Regions from separate parts of the Homo sapiens genome. Here regions 1, 2 and 4 are each linked to region 3. Evidence: promoter capture Hi-C in human tissues and cell types (Jung and others, 2019). All regions are on one chromosome and are shown on one strand. The core of a region is centred on a gene start or on the middle of the fragment in contact, and the rest is flanking DNA. Distances in the headings are between cores, read along the strand shown. Region 1 holds the start of LINC00927 (long intergenic non-protein coding RNA 927). Region 2 overlaps LINC00927 (long intergenic non-protein coding RNA 927). Region 3 holds the start of ARNT2 (aryl hydrocarbon receptor nuclear translocator 2). Region 4 overlaps LINC00927 (long intergenic non-protein coding RNA 927).

Evidence for each region. Contacts are between HindIII fragments. The study calls those that stand out against the background at their distance.
Region 1: a contact is called between a fragment that was not itself captured here and the fragment with the promoter of ARNT2 in region 3, in 2 of the 25 tissues and cell types used here (bladder and ovary).
Region 2: a fragment that was not itself captured here is called in contact with the fragment with the promoter of ARNT2 in region 3 in 2 of the 25 tissues and cell types used here (dorsolateral prefrontal cortex and liver).
Region 4: a fragment that was not itself captured here is called in contact with the fragment with the promoter of ARNT2 in region 3 in 3 of the 25 tissues and cell types used here (adrenal gland, hippocampus and mesendoderm cells).

What each region holds. Positions count from the first base shown.
Region 1 is chr15:80,338,256-80,342,111 of GRCh38, forward strand. It overlaps LINC00927 (long intergenic non-protein coding RNA 927), which reads right to left and starts at 3,550. Exons shown (of 3, transcript NR_033833.1): 1 at 3,301-3,550. The HindIII fragment of the contact is 5,859 bases long and covers 1-3,856 here.
Region 2 is chr15:80,275,976-80,280,026 of GRCh38, forward strand. All of the region lies in intron 2 of LINC00927 (long intergenic non-protein coding RNA 927), which reads right to left. Among named protein-coding and RNA genes, the nearest start is that of CTXND1, 26 kb to the left of the region's middle. The HindIII fragment of the contact is 5,478 bases long and covers 1-4,051 here.
Region 3 is chr15:80,402,952-80,406,854 of GRCh38, forward strand. ARNT2 (aryl hydrocarbon receptor nuclear translocator 2) reads left to right here and starts at 1,431. Exons shown (of 19, transcript NM_014862.4): 1 at 1,431-1,595. The coding sequence starts at 1,565. It overlaps ARNT2-DT (ARNT2 divergent transcript), which reads right to left and starts at 1,245. Exons shown (of 6, transcript NR_184070.1): 1 at 1,040-1,245; 2 at 551-634. RefSeq lists an enhancer at 862-1,362. The HindIII fragment of the contact is 10,967 bases long and covers 1-3,903 here.
Region 4 is chr15:80,316,860-80,320,843 of GRCh38, forward strand. All of the region lies in intron 1 of LINC00927 (long intergenic non-protein coding RNA 927), which reads right to left. Among named protein-coding and RNA genes, the nearest start is that of LINC00927, 23 kb to the right of the region's middle. RefSeq lists an enhancer at 938-1,438. The HindIII fragment of the contact is 6,133 bases long and covers 1-3,984 here.

The DNA.
Region 1 (3,856 bases), core at 615-3,114, 64 kb before region 3:
AATCGGGAGGCTGAGGCAGGAGAATGCCATGAACCTGGGAGGCGGAGCTTGCAGTGAGTGGAGATGTGCCACTGCACTCCAGCCTGGGTGACACAGCGAGACTCTGTCTCAAAAAAAAAAAAAAAAGAAGAAAGAAAATAATTCATAGCACAGCCACATCATTCAATAGTATTTGGTAGTCATTAGAATGAAATAGAGCTACAGCAATTGAGCAACAAAAATCTCCTTGAATTAATAGTTAAGGAAAAAATCAAGATGCAGACTAGTATATATAAAATGTGCCCATTTGAGTAAAATTAACAAATACTTGAATATATTTGAATACCTATATGTATTTATATGTGCATAAAAGAGTAGATGCACATGTTTGTGTGTGTGTATGATTGTGCAAGCAAGGATAATAAGATAGACTGCTTACCAGATTATTGGTATGAATTATTGTGATTCACTTGTGGGACAGGGACATAAAGTGGAGAGTTAGATATGCATTTTCATTCTGTAGTTTATGTAAGTGTATATAAGGTATACTATATTTTTGTTATAGATGAAATTAATTTATGTTAAATGACTTAGATTAGAACAAAAAACACAGTGTTAGCACTATATCTACTGACTTAACAGGAAAGCATGGTAGTCAATTGAAAAAATGTGCAGAGCAATGTGGGTAGAGCGTGACCCAGTTTCCAAAAGAGCACAGCAAACAGCTGTACGTGTGTGCCTGTGACTATATATATGTGTGTGTCTGAGCAAAGAGAAATATATAGAAGGATATACAAGTGCTTTTTCACACTGGTACCTTCAAGGAGAGGTGCAATTTACATTTGAGGGGCAGTTCTGATTATAACTTTGTCTTTTTAAAGTTTTGTACTTTGCACATGTTTAAGTAGGGATATAAGAGTTTTCTAAGTTAAAAAAAAAGCACATATATATTTTTAATTTTGGATATGTTTTTTGAATAAGGATAAAAATATCTTTAAAGTTGGATTTAAAGATTTGAGCCACGGCATGAATACACCTACAGACTGCACAAAGTTAGCCTCGGAGAGGTCTTGCTTGCTATTTGGAGACAATGACCTCTTCTGGCCTCTATACCTATGAATGACCAAAAGAAATATGTAAAGGTTAATGCATTATTTTCCAAACAACTCTGGAGTGTACCTGTCTACTTGGAAGGAAGAAGGCTGGACATGATGTGCAACTCACTATGTAACCACTAGAAGATTCTAGAAGATTCTCTGATGTGCCACTCCCACCTTCCTCTCCTGACTGGTGTAAAGGAAAACCCAACCTGGTACATCCAAGGCTACTTTCCAGGACTGCATTTGGAGGACATTAACTGGAAAGATGCAGATTTTAAGGAAAAAGATTTTGGCCAAATCACTTTGGACAGTTGGAAAAACCCCAGCTTGTGCTCACCCTGGAGAGGCCAGACCTCTTCAACTTTGGTGCCTCTAAGAATCATAAAATTTCCTTCCTTATCATCTGGAAAATGCAAGCCTGGGCTTTTGCATTCAGATGTTGAAGGCTGCGTGGCCCTGTGCCCTGGGGTGGAGGCCTCTGAGAATGGAGGTAGTGCACATGAACTCGCTGGCCCTGCGTCCTTGTCTGTGAGCCCAGGGATCCCTATCTGGTCTCAGGGATCCTGGGGACTTCTCCATCCCTATTGTTCTCCCTCTTGTTTTGAAATCCCATGACATCTTTCATCTTTCCAGATGTCTATCATTGGCCTGCAAACATTTGGGGGAACCACTATGGGAGACAGAGTTCCTGCACACAGTGGTACAAGTGGTAGCAGTGCCTTATAACGAGCTACACTGAAAACATTATCATACATACTGGGACTTTTCTGGTTTGTAATGGAGGATCTTAAAGATAATTTCTTTCCTGTATTGCAACATTTGTTTAATGCCAAATTAATTTGCTTCTCTGGGACTTGGAAACAATCTAATTTCTCCTTAACATACATAATATGTAGTTCTCTGAGATGTGTCTATGAAAGTGATTTTCTTAGCACATTTAGTGTTAGCATTCAAACAGGAGAATTGCTCACCTTGCTTCAACCTCTTTATAGAGAAGGCATTCATAGGAAGAATTATGCTTACAGAATACTTCTTTGACTTTAAGACTCTGCCATGTGTCCATCTTTCTTGTGCTTTTTCTAAGTAACAGTTAAAAGTTAAAATGGCCTTGCTCTGAACAGAAACTCCCTCACATGTTCTTGTTAGATGGACCCCATCAGGGAAAAGGCAGAAAACAGACATCCGTATCTGAGAGCCTTTTGATGCCGCAAGCGCCAATGGCCCAGGTATAAAAACCTCCACCGAGTGGACCTGGGGGCTGGATATGTCAGCCTAAGGGTCTGTGCTAGTTTCTGGATATGAGAGTAGATTGGAGGTTCAGGATCAAAACAGATGAGAGCAGTTTGTGGATGGGACTGGGTAAATCTTGCAAGCAGAGACACAGTTGAAGAGGAACTCTTGGGAGGGGTGAGAGGACCAAATAAACAACAAGACACAGGGTGGTGCCAGGGGAGGGCAGCCCAGGTGCTGGCCAGAGAAGGTGTAGGGTGCAGACACTGGGCGGGGAAAGGGTGCAAAACTATGATAATAGCAGAAGCTCCGTTAATTAGAGCAGGAATTTAAAATCCGATTCTGAAGTGAGACTTGGCTGTGAGGGGTTGTGAAGCCCCAGGAAGAGGTGGGCAGGAAACAGAGGAGGAGAAGGGAAGATTCTGCAGCATGGGGGACTGGGGTCTGCCCAGCCCTCCTCCCCATCCAGGCTGGGGGCAGCTGCAGAACTCACTCTGTCAGTGTCGGGGGCCCGGGGTCAGTGTGAGCTCCCTCCAGCTCCCACTTCCATACCTACTGCTGTTATTTCCTTAATTCCTCAAGTGATATGTGAATTCTTTCTCATAAGTAATGAGGAACTGAAGGACAGGTCTCCCTACCCACCCGTTCTGGCTATGCTCTCTGTCCCACTTGCCCACTTCGTCCTTTCCATGGACATAAGGACCCAGGCTTAAACACCTGAGACAGTCATCTGCCCCTATTCAGAAAAGCCCTTCAGACTCACAGGAGAATTTTTTGGTTCTCCCATTCATTTATTCCTTCAGTTATTCCTTCCCATTACAAACTTTTGTTAATTGTCCACTAGACAACAGTGAGAACTTCCTCAGGGAAACCTCAGCCAGCCTCATCCTGCACTCCAAATCCTACATGTTCCTTTTCTGACGAGGTGTCCAGGGGACATCAGAGCCCTGCGGCCCAGCTCTGATCCCTGAGAGGCAGCTTCATCCCCTACCTTTCGGAGGAAGGCCTCTTCCTTCTGTGTTGCTGGCTCATCCTGTCCAGGTGGAGGAGAACCGATAGGGTGGTCTCTGAAGGATTTCTAAGCCTCCTTTCAGTTGTAGGTGTGCCCCAGCCTCTCTGGGATTGGGACTTTGCTTCGGCCCTGGGTTTCTGTGACTCAGTAGCTAGGGCCTGTCCTGCAGGAGATGTGGGACCCTCACCCTCTGAGAACTTCTGGGAGCTGAGTGAGCGCCAAGCTTCCAGAGCCCTGTGTGACATCATTGCTGACCTAGTCCAGTGGGGTGGGCCACGACGACAGGCACACCTGGCAACTGGTGATAGGTGCTTGGGGCAAGGGGAAAACGTGGGTGGGAAATTATATAATTCTTTACCAAAATGGACTTGAACCTTTCCTTGCTCCCATGGAGTTTCCATTTCTCAAGGAGAGATGCTGCAGGGAATGGGGACAGACTGTGGTGGGGTGTGGCTTCCCCCAAACCTCCCCCTGCCTCTGTTTGAAACTCTTCCCCCTAGTCTTAGTCACACAAGGTCCCCCTGAATCCCTTCAG
Region 2 (4,051 bases), core at 451-2,950, 130 kb before region 3:
GAGGGTTTGGAATGGGAGGAAATGAGGACCATCTTTTAGTGACTAAGGATATCTATTTGTAATCAGCTGGGCTGGAGTTTGAGTGGCATCTGTGTTTATGGAACTGAATAACTTCCTGGTTTGGCCTTAGCACCATCTGCCATGTGCCAGACTAAAAAGGCCTCCCAGGCACTGAAAGATGACTCACCCCTCCCCAGTCCTCACGATCCTAGAGAAGTTCTATTATTTCTTAGCTCATTTCTCATCAGCACCATCTGGGAGTGGCCTGGCTTACAGCCATTTTCCCTTGAGAAGGACCCTGGCAGGGTGTCGATCCCATGGGACCTGGCCCCTGGCCACAGGCTGATTGGTCACCGCTGACCCCAGCTGGGGCACCTGATTCTGTGTCTTGGGATTCTGAGGCACAGAGAGAGTCACAGGTCTGGTCTGTCTGTGGCAGTGGCATCGAAAGGAGTCCCAGGCTGCAGCCCCCAGGCCTCTGACACCACCCGGGCTCCCCTCTTCCTGAAGCTGGATATTCAGCTCTCCCTTGGATGTCATGAGCTGCCTTCAATTCCTCCACTTTGGCTGCATGGGCTAGAGAGGTTTCTGAGGCTTCCAACAGGAGCCACTGTTGGAGCCCTGTGTGGACAGAGGGACAAGCTCAGTCACCAAGGAAGCCCAATCTCAGGGACTAGGGCTACCAAGGAGTCACCTCTGCCCTCAGTGAAGATACAGGTGACAAACAGTATGTTTTTGGAAGATCCCTCGAGTTCTGTTTCTCTCTAAGGTGCTTTCTATCTCTGCATTGGTCACCAGGAGGGATAAGGGTCAGTGTGACACCACCTCAGGAAGGGGGGATTTGGGGGTAGCTGTCCCTTCTGGTCGGGGCATCGTGGAAGGGACAAAGGGGACATGTGGCTGACTTGTTGGTCATCATTTCCTTTCTCCAGGCTCAAATCCTGGATCTGGGGGAGGGAGGAGGTCCTGAAATCTAAGGGGTTCCTGCTTCTCTTCCTGTCTGAGGGTCTGACAGGAGACTGTGCCCAAACATCTCCCATGCCGACATCCCAGGCTCTCCATCGTGAGGGAAGTTTGCCCCAGCACCAGCATAGCAGGAATTTCATAGGCCAGTGTGCCAGATGCAGACACGGATGCTGGGATACCTTTGGGGAGGGTCTGCTGCCCACCTCTGCAATGTGGCCACTGCTGTTGGCCCCTCGGGGACAGCCTCAGCCTCAGAGACCCACCTCACCAAAGGTACAAAGACCCAGCCATGTCAGCCTGATGCTGTACAACTCTGATGATACTTCTCACTCTGTAGTGACCAGCTCGGTTGGCAGGGGCTGCGCTGGGCCCCCAGCACAGGATGACTTCCCTCGGTCTGTGCCTGTGGCACCTTCCTTTCTCAGATGTGACCCCTTATCAGCATCGTGTGAGCCCAGCTCCATTTCAGCATCTGCTTCTGGAGAACTCACTGGCGGCATCAGAGTGTAGGCATGTGGTGTGGATGCACAGATGCCTGGGCACAGAATGTCTGCCACACACAGACATCAGCTATTACTGGGGCTGACATGGATGGAGAAGGGGGACAATATTACCACTCTTGTTCTTCTAACCCAGCACAGCATTCCCTCTGTTCAGGCTGCCAAGACCTCTGACTGCCAGTGTCCAGCAGAAGGAGGGCACAGGAGTGAGATCTGCAAGGCTGAGATTCACCTACTAGGCTCTGTTATAAGAGATGAATGGGGATTGCTTAAAGGGACATCAATGTCACTGACATCACCCTGCCATGGGAGGCTCATAAGGAAGATTAAATCATACAGTGTGAAGAGACAGATGTTCTTTGCACATCTGAGAGACCCCAACAGATATTCAACCATGTAAACTTATATTTTGAGCCATTTTTCATGAGATTTTAAACAATTTTATCTACTGTAAAGTACATATGTGCTGTGAGACATCTCTGGCATAATTTTCCTCCTGTTTCTCTAGGGAACGTGCAAATAGATAAAAACTTCAGGCTTCATGTCCCTTGCCCACACTAGAGGCCTGGGGCCTCTCAGACAGGTCACCTACAGTATTTCTGTTGACTCATTGCCATTACTTGCTTTCAGAGATAGAGAGAGAGAGATTGAGAGAGATTGAAAGAGAAGAAGGAGTCAAGTTATTCCCCAGTGATATAAAGACTTGGGCAAGCACGTGGTTCTTGCAACCCAGGGGAAGGGGACATGGAAGGATGCTACCAAGGCCAGCCCTGGCAAGCCCAATGCCCATTTCACGGTGAAACTTTGCATATTTGTGACTTTCTTTTTTCGCAAATCTCCCAAGGCTAGGTCCCCTGGGAGGAAGGGCCATGGACCCATCATGATAAAGCGTGATGGTGCTGCATGTGGCCTCCCTGCCATCCTTCTTGGGCATGCATTTGCACCTGTCTGATGGAGTCTTTGCAGGAGGCTGGCCCACCCTGTCCCTTCTGTCTCACTCTCAGAAAGGGCGTCCCCCTCTGCACCACAAATCCAATATCTGCAGGGAGCTGCCGTGACCCACAGTGGACTTGCTATAGATGTGGTGAGAGAAAGAGGCAAAGCAAGGCTGTTCATGGGGATGAGGGGGAGAAAATTTGACCGAAGGCTTAGATTGACCTCTATAAAACCAGCTCTGTGGTGTGTGTGGAATTAAAATTCTTGACGAAGAAGCCAAATTAAAATTCTTGATGAAAAAGCCTATCAGGAGTCAAAAGTGAACTTAGTTACGTTGCTGGGGTTCATCGAAAGGCAATCCTTTCCTTTTCCAGGCCCAGGGAATACGCTGCCCAAAGTGACGCGTTGAGGGAGGAACAAAGTTGAGGGTGGGGAGTCATGCTTGGTCTTCTGATGGCCGATCTGGTAAGAGTTTTAGCTGGAGGATTTGTAGCCAAACTGTAAGATGTAAATAACAGACCCTGACATGTAGGGGAGGATGAATGTCAGGACCAGGGTCACCAAGGACCTCACAGAGGACCTTGGACACGGACTCCAAATGAGGCTTATACATAAGATGTGTTGCGTTTGTGTGTCGTTTTGGTAAATGTAAACATTTAAGATGTAGTATAATTATCCTAAACTCATTCTGAAACTTTTTTACTTTCTTCCATATATGGGGTAAGAAAAAAAAAGGCAGTTCGTTCAAACCCTTCTCAACAGTGAAGGGTCCTGGCAAATTATATTCTATTAATCAGTCATCAAGTATTCAAATATTCATATAACCACCCACTGGGTGCAAATATGAACAAGAAACATAGATTATGTAAATTAGACATTTGAGTCCATTTAAAATAATTTCCTATCCATATGGGTCCTGTTGTTTGAAGTTTCAACCAAATTATATAACTTGTCATTGGCCCATTATGCTATTTCCTTTCTCTGTGAGTTGCAGCAGCTCAGGAGCTGGTTAAAGGCCAAAAAAGCTTCAGGGTCTCCATGTGCAGTTGGCAGCTCTGTCCTGGTGGGAGCTACCTGGTCCAGACTAGACCCCCCAGCACACCTGTTCATGACATTCAAGCAGGGCCAGGCAATCTCTCTTCTTGGGAAGTGAGAGAAGAGGGTTTGGTAGAGAGATGATCTTGCCTAATCTCATCCTTTGAGAGGCATGTTCAAGTGTCATCTGATGATGGATTTGGTGGCAAGAAAGGGACTCAAACTCAGGTTTCCTGATTCCTGTTCCCGAGTACTTTCCAGGAAACATCACACAGGTTCTTATAGCTCTTATGAACTTCTCAGCTAAGAATGCATGTGCTATCCTCTGACTTCAGTTCTCTGAGCAGCAGAGCCCAAGTCTGTCATTTGTTAATGGTGTGCCCAAGGTGTTGTTACTCTAAAGGGGACACTTCCTTCCCTGGATGGAAATTATATTCCAATTCTCACCTTTCAACCACCACCTCCACGAGCTTGCCTGCCCTTGTTCCCACACGTTCTGCTCTCTGGCCTGGTAGAAGGAGGTGACCCTCGCCCCCTGAGGACTTTGTGTCTTGAGTCTTCTTCTCTTTCCTGCATTGTCACTCTTCCCCTCTTCATGGACAGTTGCTGCCAGC
Region 3 (3,903 bases), core at 181-2,680:
TTTTCCACCTGTCCTACTCATGTCTTCAAAGCCTAATTTTCATTTTCCCTGATCACTCCACCTCCTCTCTGCCCTCATTCATTCATTAGTGACTACAGGCTGGAGATGCCAATTTCAGGGCTTCTGCCCTAAGCCCCCAAGGGAGCTGTGTGCTTCTTGAGTGCAGATACTTTGTTTCACTCTTCCCCACTCTACCCCCCAAACCAGAAGAACAGAGCTCCTGTTTCTTCCTTTCCATGGTAGGCCCAACACCTGGCTTTGTGCCTGGCACACAGCAGACATTCAACATTTGTAGAACTGATAGACTATTAGATTAGTAGTGACAAATACTCCCCGAAGAAAATGCTTATTTGAACATACATCCCAAATTTTCTGCCCTCCAGAAAATGCTTCCTTGGAAGGATTTAAGACAGTTTGATGTCTCTGCAAACATTATCTGCGTTTAGGGACCAACTTGCCCTTCTCAGCGTTCACCTGGGATGTCTTTATTCTTCCATTTAACCTTTACAGGGGACCCCGATGGTGACGTGTCCTTCCTAGGGGCCATTACCTCTCTCAGGGATCCTAGTGTCTGGTAGAAAACAACAGCTCCAAGTTCTCTGCATCCAAACTTCGCCAGGATACGCAGATAAACCTATTTAAAAAAAAAAATCTTTTTAAATTCTCAACTTGGTGGTGTAAATAAGGCCCTTGCAGCGCCCTCAAGTAATAATCAACGGCAGTCATTATGGAAGGAGGGTAGAGATGAGCGCCTTACTCAAAGCCAAGACATTCACAATTTCTCGGGCCGGCTGCCTGTGCCTGGGCGTGTGCACTGTGCACTCCGAAGCTGTGTGCGGCGGTGGCCTTGGAGGTGCGCGTGGCCTTAGGAATTCCCGCGGTCGGGCACCCTCCGCTTAACACCGGGCCGTGTCCCCGGCCTGGGAGCCGAGCAGCGCGGCTCTGGCATGCTAAGTGGGCAGCACTGGGGCGCCTTTGTTCCTCGCGGCCGTCTCCCAGGACCGGCTTCCCTCTGAATCTAAATGGGCTTCTCCCTCACCCGCTCCGCCCTGGCCTCCTGGCCTGGGCACGGCGCCCCTGGGTAAAGCGCGCCCGGACACCTGGGGCGTGGGCGTGCGGGGGCAGCCCGGGCTAGGCGAGCGCGGGAGAGGCGCCTGCGGTCCCAGCCCGGCCAGGCCCGAGCACCTGCGCGAGCCCGAGGGAGCGCCCGGCCCTCTGCCCCCGCCAGTCGCCGGCGCCCAACTTGGGGGTCCCGCCGTCCGCAGCCCCAAGTCTCGCGGTGCTACCGCTCTGACCGGGGAGCCGCGGGCCGGGCGCCCCCCGCCGCGCGACAAAGGCTGAACCGGGAGGAGGAGGCCGAGGAGGGGGAGGAGGAGGAGAGAAAGGCGGGGACGGCGAGCGGCCGCGGCGGCGGGGAGAGCGGAGGGAGCGCCGCCCGCCCGCGCCGTCCTTTGTGTGGCGGCGGCGGCGCCTGGGCCTGACCGGGTCCCCGGGGCTGAGCGCCGGGCTCCGCGCCGCCCCTCCCGCGCCCCTGCCAAGCGGGCGCCTATCCTCTCCGAGCAAGATGGCAACCCCGGCGGCGGTCAACCCTCCGGGTGAGTAGCGGCCTGGGCCCCGCCGCCCGCCGCAGCCCGCAGGCCTTGCCCGGGGCCGGAGCGGACCAGGCGCGCCGGGCGCCCCCGGGGGCGCGGAGCCGCAGCTCGGCGCGGTGGGTGGTGGAGCGGCTGTCACTACGCGGCAGCCGCAGCATCAGCACCAGAGCGGCATCTGCATCCCAATCGCTGCCCATCCGGTCCCGGGCAGGCGCCGGTCCGGACCCGCGGGCGGCCGGACGCTGGCCTCGCATCCTCGGGAACCCGAAGGGCAGGCCCGGGAGCCCCCGAAGTTCTGAAAATAACCGCCTTTGCCTTCCCCATCCCACGCATTTTTCTCTTCCGGTCCCGGCTTTTGTGGCATCACGGCGTCAGCCAGTCCTGGCTGGTGGAGGGCTCCGCGCTGACGGAGGGAAAAGTTTGGAGCTGGGATTCAACAGGGTACAACTCCCGGGACTCTCCCCTGCCCGCCCCGCCCACTAAGCGCTGGTCCTTTGCGCCCTTTGCGACTGGCTGCTGTGTGTCCTAACCCTCCGGGGGCACAAAACACCCAGCCTGTGGTCACCAGCGTGGAGCAGCCCTGGTCCTGCCCAGGTGACATCCTCTGCTTTCTGGTCTGACCTGTCCCCAGGGTGCAGTCTGTGACAACTGAGCTCATTAGGAAATATTTCAAAAATGGAAGAGTTCTTGATCAAGTGGCAACATTGACTTGTTTTGGTATTGTAGTAGGGAAGTTCCGTTTTCACTGGGAAAGTTCCCTACCTGATGAGCAGGGTGTGGGAGAAGAGAAACGTGAACATCTAAGCTAGTACAAACTTTTGGGTGTTGTGCAGAGGCTGCTGTGGGCACGGCAGGTTGCTGGGTCCCTGTGGAAGATGCAGGGAGAGTCACAGAGGGCGGCCCCCAGGAAATTCCCAGCAGAGGGAGGTCATGTGTTGGAGATAGGGAGGGTCGGGGGAGGAACAGCAATGCCTAGCAAAGAAAAGTGTCTCTCATCATAGAATTAGGAATGAAAGATCCCTTTCATCTAAGGCGGCCAGGGAAGGCTTCTGGAGATTGGACATTTCGGCTGAACCTTGAAAACGGGAATGTTTGAATATACAGAGCCAGTAGCAGAGGGGCATTGCAGGCGTAAGTAACAGTGGACTTGCTCTAAGCAAGTGCAGAGGTCAGTGAGTAGTTGGTGCACTGGGGATATAAGAGGCAGCAGTGGGATTTAACACTGAGTTGTTTGGATGTGACCAGGCTTTAAAGGACAGACTGAGGAGTATGGACTTTCTCTCTCCACATTAAGGGAGAGTCCTCTGCACACTTCCTAAGAACCAGAAAAATAAAATAAAATAGAAAAGAGAGAGAGAGACAGAGAGAGAGAGAGAGAGACCTCAATGGTATTGAACAAGGAAATCGCATGATCACTTTTTCTGGAAGACTGATTTGTCAGCTATGTCTAGGAAACATTCTAAGGAGGGAACAAGACTTGAGACAGGGAGGCCAGCATGAAATGAGGCAGGTGCTGGGGAGGCCAGAATTGGTGGCCATGGCTGGACCAGAGAGGAAGGAATGCACCACTGGGCGGGTAGAAGAGTTCCAGATTTGGCACTGATTAGATTTGGAGTAAGAGTAAAGGAGGAGGCCAAGGAGAGACAAAGGGGAGGTGTCCATGGAGACACCAAGGTGAAGAGCCTGTGTAATTCCAAGGAAGGCAGTTCCATCAGCAGAAATAGGGACTCTTGGAAGAACAGACAAGGAGGCCTCTGTCCAGAACACTGAGGAGGAACGTGGCTGGTCTGAAAACAAATCTGTGCCAGTTTGCCTGTGACTGAAGCTGCAATTTCAACCCATTCAACTACTTCAAAATCAATGGAAAATTGATAGATGTAAATGTTATGAAATTAGAAAAAGCAAAAGATGTTAAATGAAAACATTTTAGTCCAATATACACTGGGAACAGGAATAAAATCCCTGGTGATTTACATAATTTCTATGCCAGGACATCATTGTTTAAAACTTTTTTGTCCATTACATTGCTCCATGAGCTACATGGACTAAAGATCTAAAGATGGAGTAACTGCCCCTGGCCCCGTGGTGTGAAGCACAGGAAAGCCTGTGCCTGTGCCTTGGACTGCGGGAGACTTGAATGGTACAAGCATAGGGTATTGTTGGCGTTGCTAGTCAACACCTGGCCAGCTTGACAGATGCTTTTCTCTGTTGACAGCTATACCAGAGATCTTCAGCATGGTGATAATTTCTCAAGGGAAAATTCCTTGAGGTGATCACCTTTCCTTTTACCATCATTTCTTTTACTGGTCCC
Region 4 (3,984 bases), core at 1,435-3,934, 85 kb before region 3:
GCTCCTACTTCCTGGTCTGACATTCACTTCTGACTGTCCACACAATCCCAACAGCCCAGGCTTCAGAAGAACTTTTCCTTAAAACCCTGTGAGCACCTTAGAAGAGAAAGTCTGTCCCTCCAAGCTCCGTACCTGCCCTCCCTGACCCCAGCTCTGTTCCCAAATGACTATTACAGACATATGTAGACGGTCACAGTGAATTAGCAGGTGGGGAGTTGGGAGCATTCTTGTGAATTGCCTCTTATTTTTTATCTTTCTACAGTACAGATATTACAATCACACCCCAGGATGCCTGATTGCTTTAGAATAGCCCACAGATAGTGGCTCCAACACTGAAAGCTTCACAACAAGCCCTCAATCTTAAAGAAGCTCAGGGACTTTTTAGAGAGAAATAAAACAGAATCAGAGAAGAAAGACTGTCTGAGTAATCACAGGGATTCTTCCAGGAAGCACTCAGCCCCAGATACACAATTTTTCCTTCTTTAAATCAAATGAGAGAAATGTCTTCCTCCATAGAAGTAGGAATTCTAGCACAATGCAAGTGAAGACAACCAAGACCCCATCACACTGAGTCATGAACAGCTAAGAGCAAGAGAAATTCAGCTGGGGAAACCTACACGGCCGAGGCAGTTTCTGTTCTTGGATCAGATCATACTTAGCTCATGTGCTGAGCAAAAGGCTGAGAATGCTCTGTCACCAAATGATCAGTTCTGATGCTGCCAGCCCATTAGGCCAGCTTGGGAAGCAGGAGCAGATGACGTGGGTGGAAGAAGAGTCATTCAGAACAAGGGTGATGCAATAAGCCAAGGGCCATGAACAGAGCTACTGTCTGAACCTCCCCTGGGTGAGAGGACAAGAATTCCCCAAGGAGGAGGGATTGCGAGACCAATGCTGCCGCTGTCTGGCAACAGGGTCTCCTCAAATGAATTCCACATCACCCAGCACAAGTTTAGGAATAGGCTTTATTTTGGAAAGGAGGAACTTACAAAGGTAAGATCAGTAAGAGAAGAGGCTGGACGTCCCCTCTCCTCCCAAGGCCCTGGCGGAGAGGGTTCTGGGCAGGGTGCTTTGCCAGGCACACACACACAGTGAGGTGGGGGGTGTGTTCCTCAGGCTCCTGCTGGCCTCTTGTGTAGGACATGGGCGAGCAGCCTTGGAGCAAAGGACTCACACACTGCTTTGACCAGCACTGTGGATTGGGTGTAGCTGTCAGAGGAGTTGTTTCAGTTCATTTGGGCTGCTGCAACAAAATACCATAGACTGGGTGGCTTATAAACAATAGAAATTTATTTTTCACAGTTCTCTAGGCTGGGAAGTCCTAGATCAAAGTACCAGCAGATTCTACGCCTGGTGAGGGCCCCCTCCCAGGTTTGGCTGTCTTCTCGCTGTGCCCTCAGGTGGTAGAAGGGGCATGGCAGTTTTCTGAGGCTTCTTTAATAAGGGCATGAATCCCATTCATGAGAGCTCTGCCTTCCAATGTCCCCTCCTTTAAATGCCATTGCCTTGAGGACTAGGATTTAACATATGAATTTCAGAGGAGCATAAACATTTAGTCTACAGCAGCAGTTGTCTGGAAATGTGGCTCCTAGAACCTGGGAATCTTAGATCCCATGGAAGCTGAAGCCGCCTGTTCTGCATACAGCTCCCAGTGGACCCTGGTCCTAGTTCTGGGCAATCAGAGTGAGTCCTTGGATCATTTCCTGACCCTCCCTGTCCCTATATCAGTAAGTCAGGGTAGCCACCTAGAGTGATGGCAGTTGCCAGGCAGGTGATTTGACAAAGAGCCCTTGTAGGAAGCATGGGGATTGGAAAGCGTGAGTTCTGGTCAAAGGGGACAGTCACAAAGAAGCTTGGGCTCATTTTTGTCATGTGCAAATGTGTGCCCAATGTCTCCAGAAAATTGGGTTTTACAAAAGAAAGCTTATTTCCAGATATTTTTTAAAAAGTGGACTCAATTGAGACCATCCTGGCCAACATGATGAAACCCCGTCTCTACTAAAAATACAAAAATTAGCTGGGTGTGGTGGCATGTGTCTGTAATCCCAGCTACTCAAGGGGCTGAGGCAGGAGAATCACTTGAACCCAGGAGGCGGAGGTTGCAGTGAGCCAAGATGGCACCACTGCACCCCAGCCTGGCGACAGAGAGAGATTCTGTCTCAAAATAAAATAAAATATAATATAATACAAATAAAAAGTAAAAAGAGTGGACTCTACTAACTTTGTATGTTATTAATGAATTCATTTTTTGTAGCACGGTGTGGGCCTAACAGACTCATCTGTGAGCTGGATGCAGCCTCTGGCTGCCAGTTTCAGCCTGTCTTGTAAATTGTCATTTGCAATGTGTTTTAATTCAACAAGCATTTGCTTATTATTCATTTTTGCAAATTTCATTTTTCTCCTGCAAACAGAGATACTAATCTATTCTGCAATTCCATAGGCTTGAGGGTGAGGGAGAAAGTTGGTATTGTCTAGAGCAGAGTTTGGCAAACATTTTTTGTGGTGTAACTCTTTTTTTTTTTTTAATGAAATCTTCTTCACTTGAGACTCCAATACATAAAGCACATAAAAGTGATAAATGGGCTCTTTTATTTCCATAGTGGAAATTGACTTTTTTCTCTCCCCCGTTATATAAATAATACATGTTTGTTGGGGGAAAAATAAAACAATACATAACAGTATAAAGAAAAAAGGGGGATGGGGCAAGCCCGTGAAATCAGACCTCCTGGCAGGGTCACCATTAACCCTTCCAACCATCATGATTTTGTGTATGTCCTCATGCACACACATATCTGTGTACACACACACATAACATTTACACAAGTGGGATTGTGCTGCATTTACTGTAGACTTCATTTTAAATGCTCATTTAGGTTCTCATTTTTTTTTTGCTTGTTTCTCCCCCTCCTCTCTTCTATCTCTTCACTCACTCTCCCCACTTCTCTCTTTACACCCCATGCCCAATATATGTTAAGAACCTAATGGGTATTTTTCCATTCTGCTCTCTATGTCTATGGTGTCTATGTCTATGTCTGTGTCTGTGTCTGTGTCTATGTCCCTATGTCTATGTATCTATGCATCTATCTGATCTATTTACGTATACCACGTGTGTGAGTAAAATCAGATTTGAGGGATCATTGCTTTTGAAAAACAAATGAGATAGCCTCATGCATACTACCCTGAACATTGCTGTCCTCAGTCAACATGGAAACTGATGCACAAACTCATTTGCTGCTACACAGGTATTGTATCCTGCATAGTATATTGATGCACCTTATTCAACATCCCCTTTACTGACACACATGCAAGTTGTTTCTGGTTTGGAGCCACTACAAATACACTGTAATAAACATTCTTGTCCATAAAATTTTATGTTTTGGTGCATTTTTTTCTAAGGTTAGAATCCGAGAAGTGAGATTATAGGATCAAAGAGTATGTTTTTAGTTTTAAAACATATAGTCAGATTGTTTTCTAATGATTTAAAACAATTCCCTGGCTTCCCTGAATGCTTACCAGAAAGATGGTTTACAATTCATTTTAATTTTCTCAGTCTGGTGGGCTGAAAATGATAATACACTATTTGTCTTGCAATTCTCTGACTTCAAAGGGTTTTGAATATCTCTTCGTAGGCTGATTAGCCATTTGGCTATGCTTTTCTGTAATGGGTATTCTTAGCCTTTTAAAAATTAATTTGTACATTATAGATATTAATTTACTATCTACCATATGCATTGAATTTTCTCTAGTCTACCATTCATCTGCTGAATTTATGATATCCAGCTTCTCTGTGAAATTGCAAATAGAAATCAGTTGCTTTCAGTTTGAAATATTTTACCATGTAAAATTAAAATGTATATTTAAAGGAATTTGCTTATCTTTTATTAGTTCTGATTCTTTGTCTCATTTAAAGAGGTTTCCTCATGACTATATGGATATGTGGTGAGAAACAATAGGAGCAATAGTGGTTATTGATAACTAGCTGGCTAT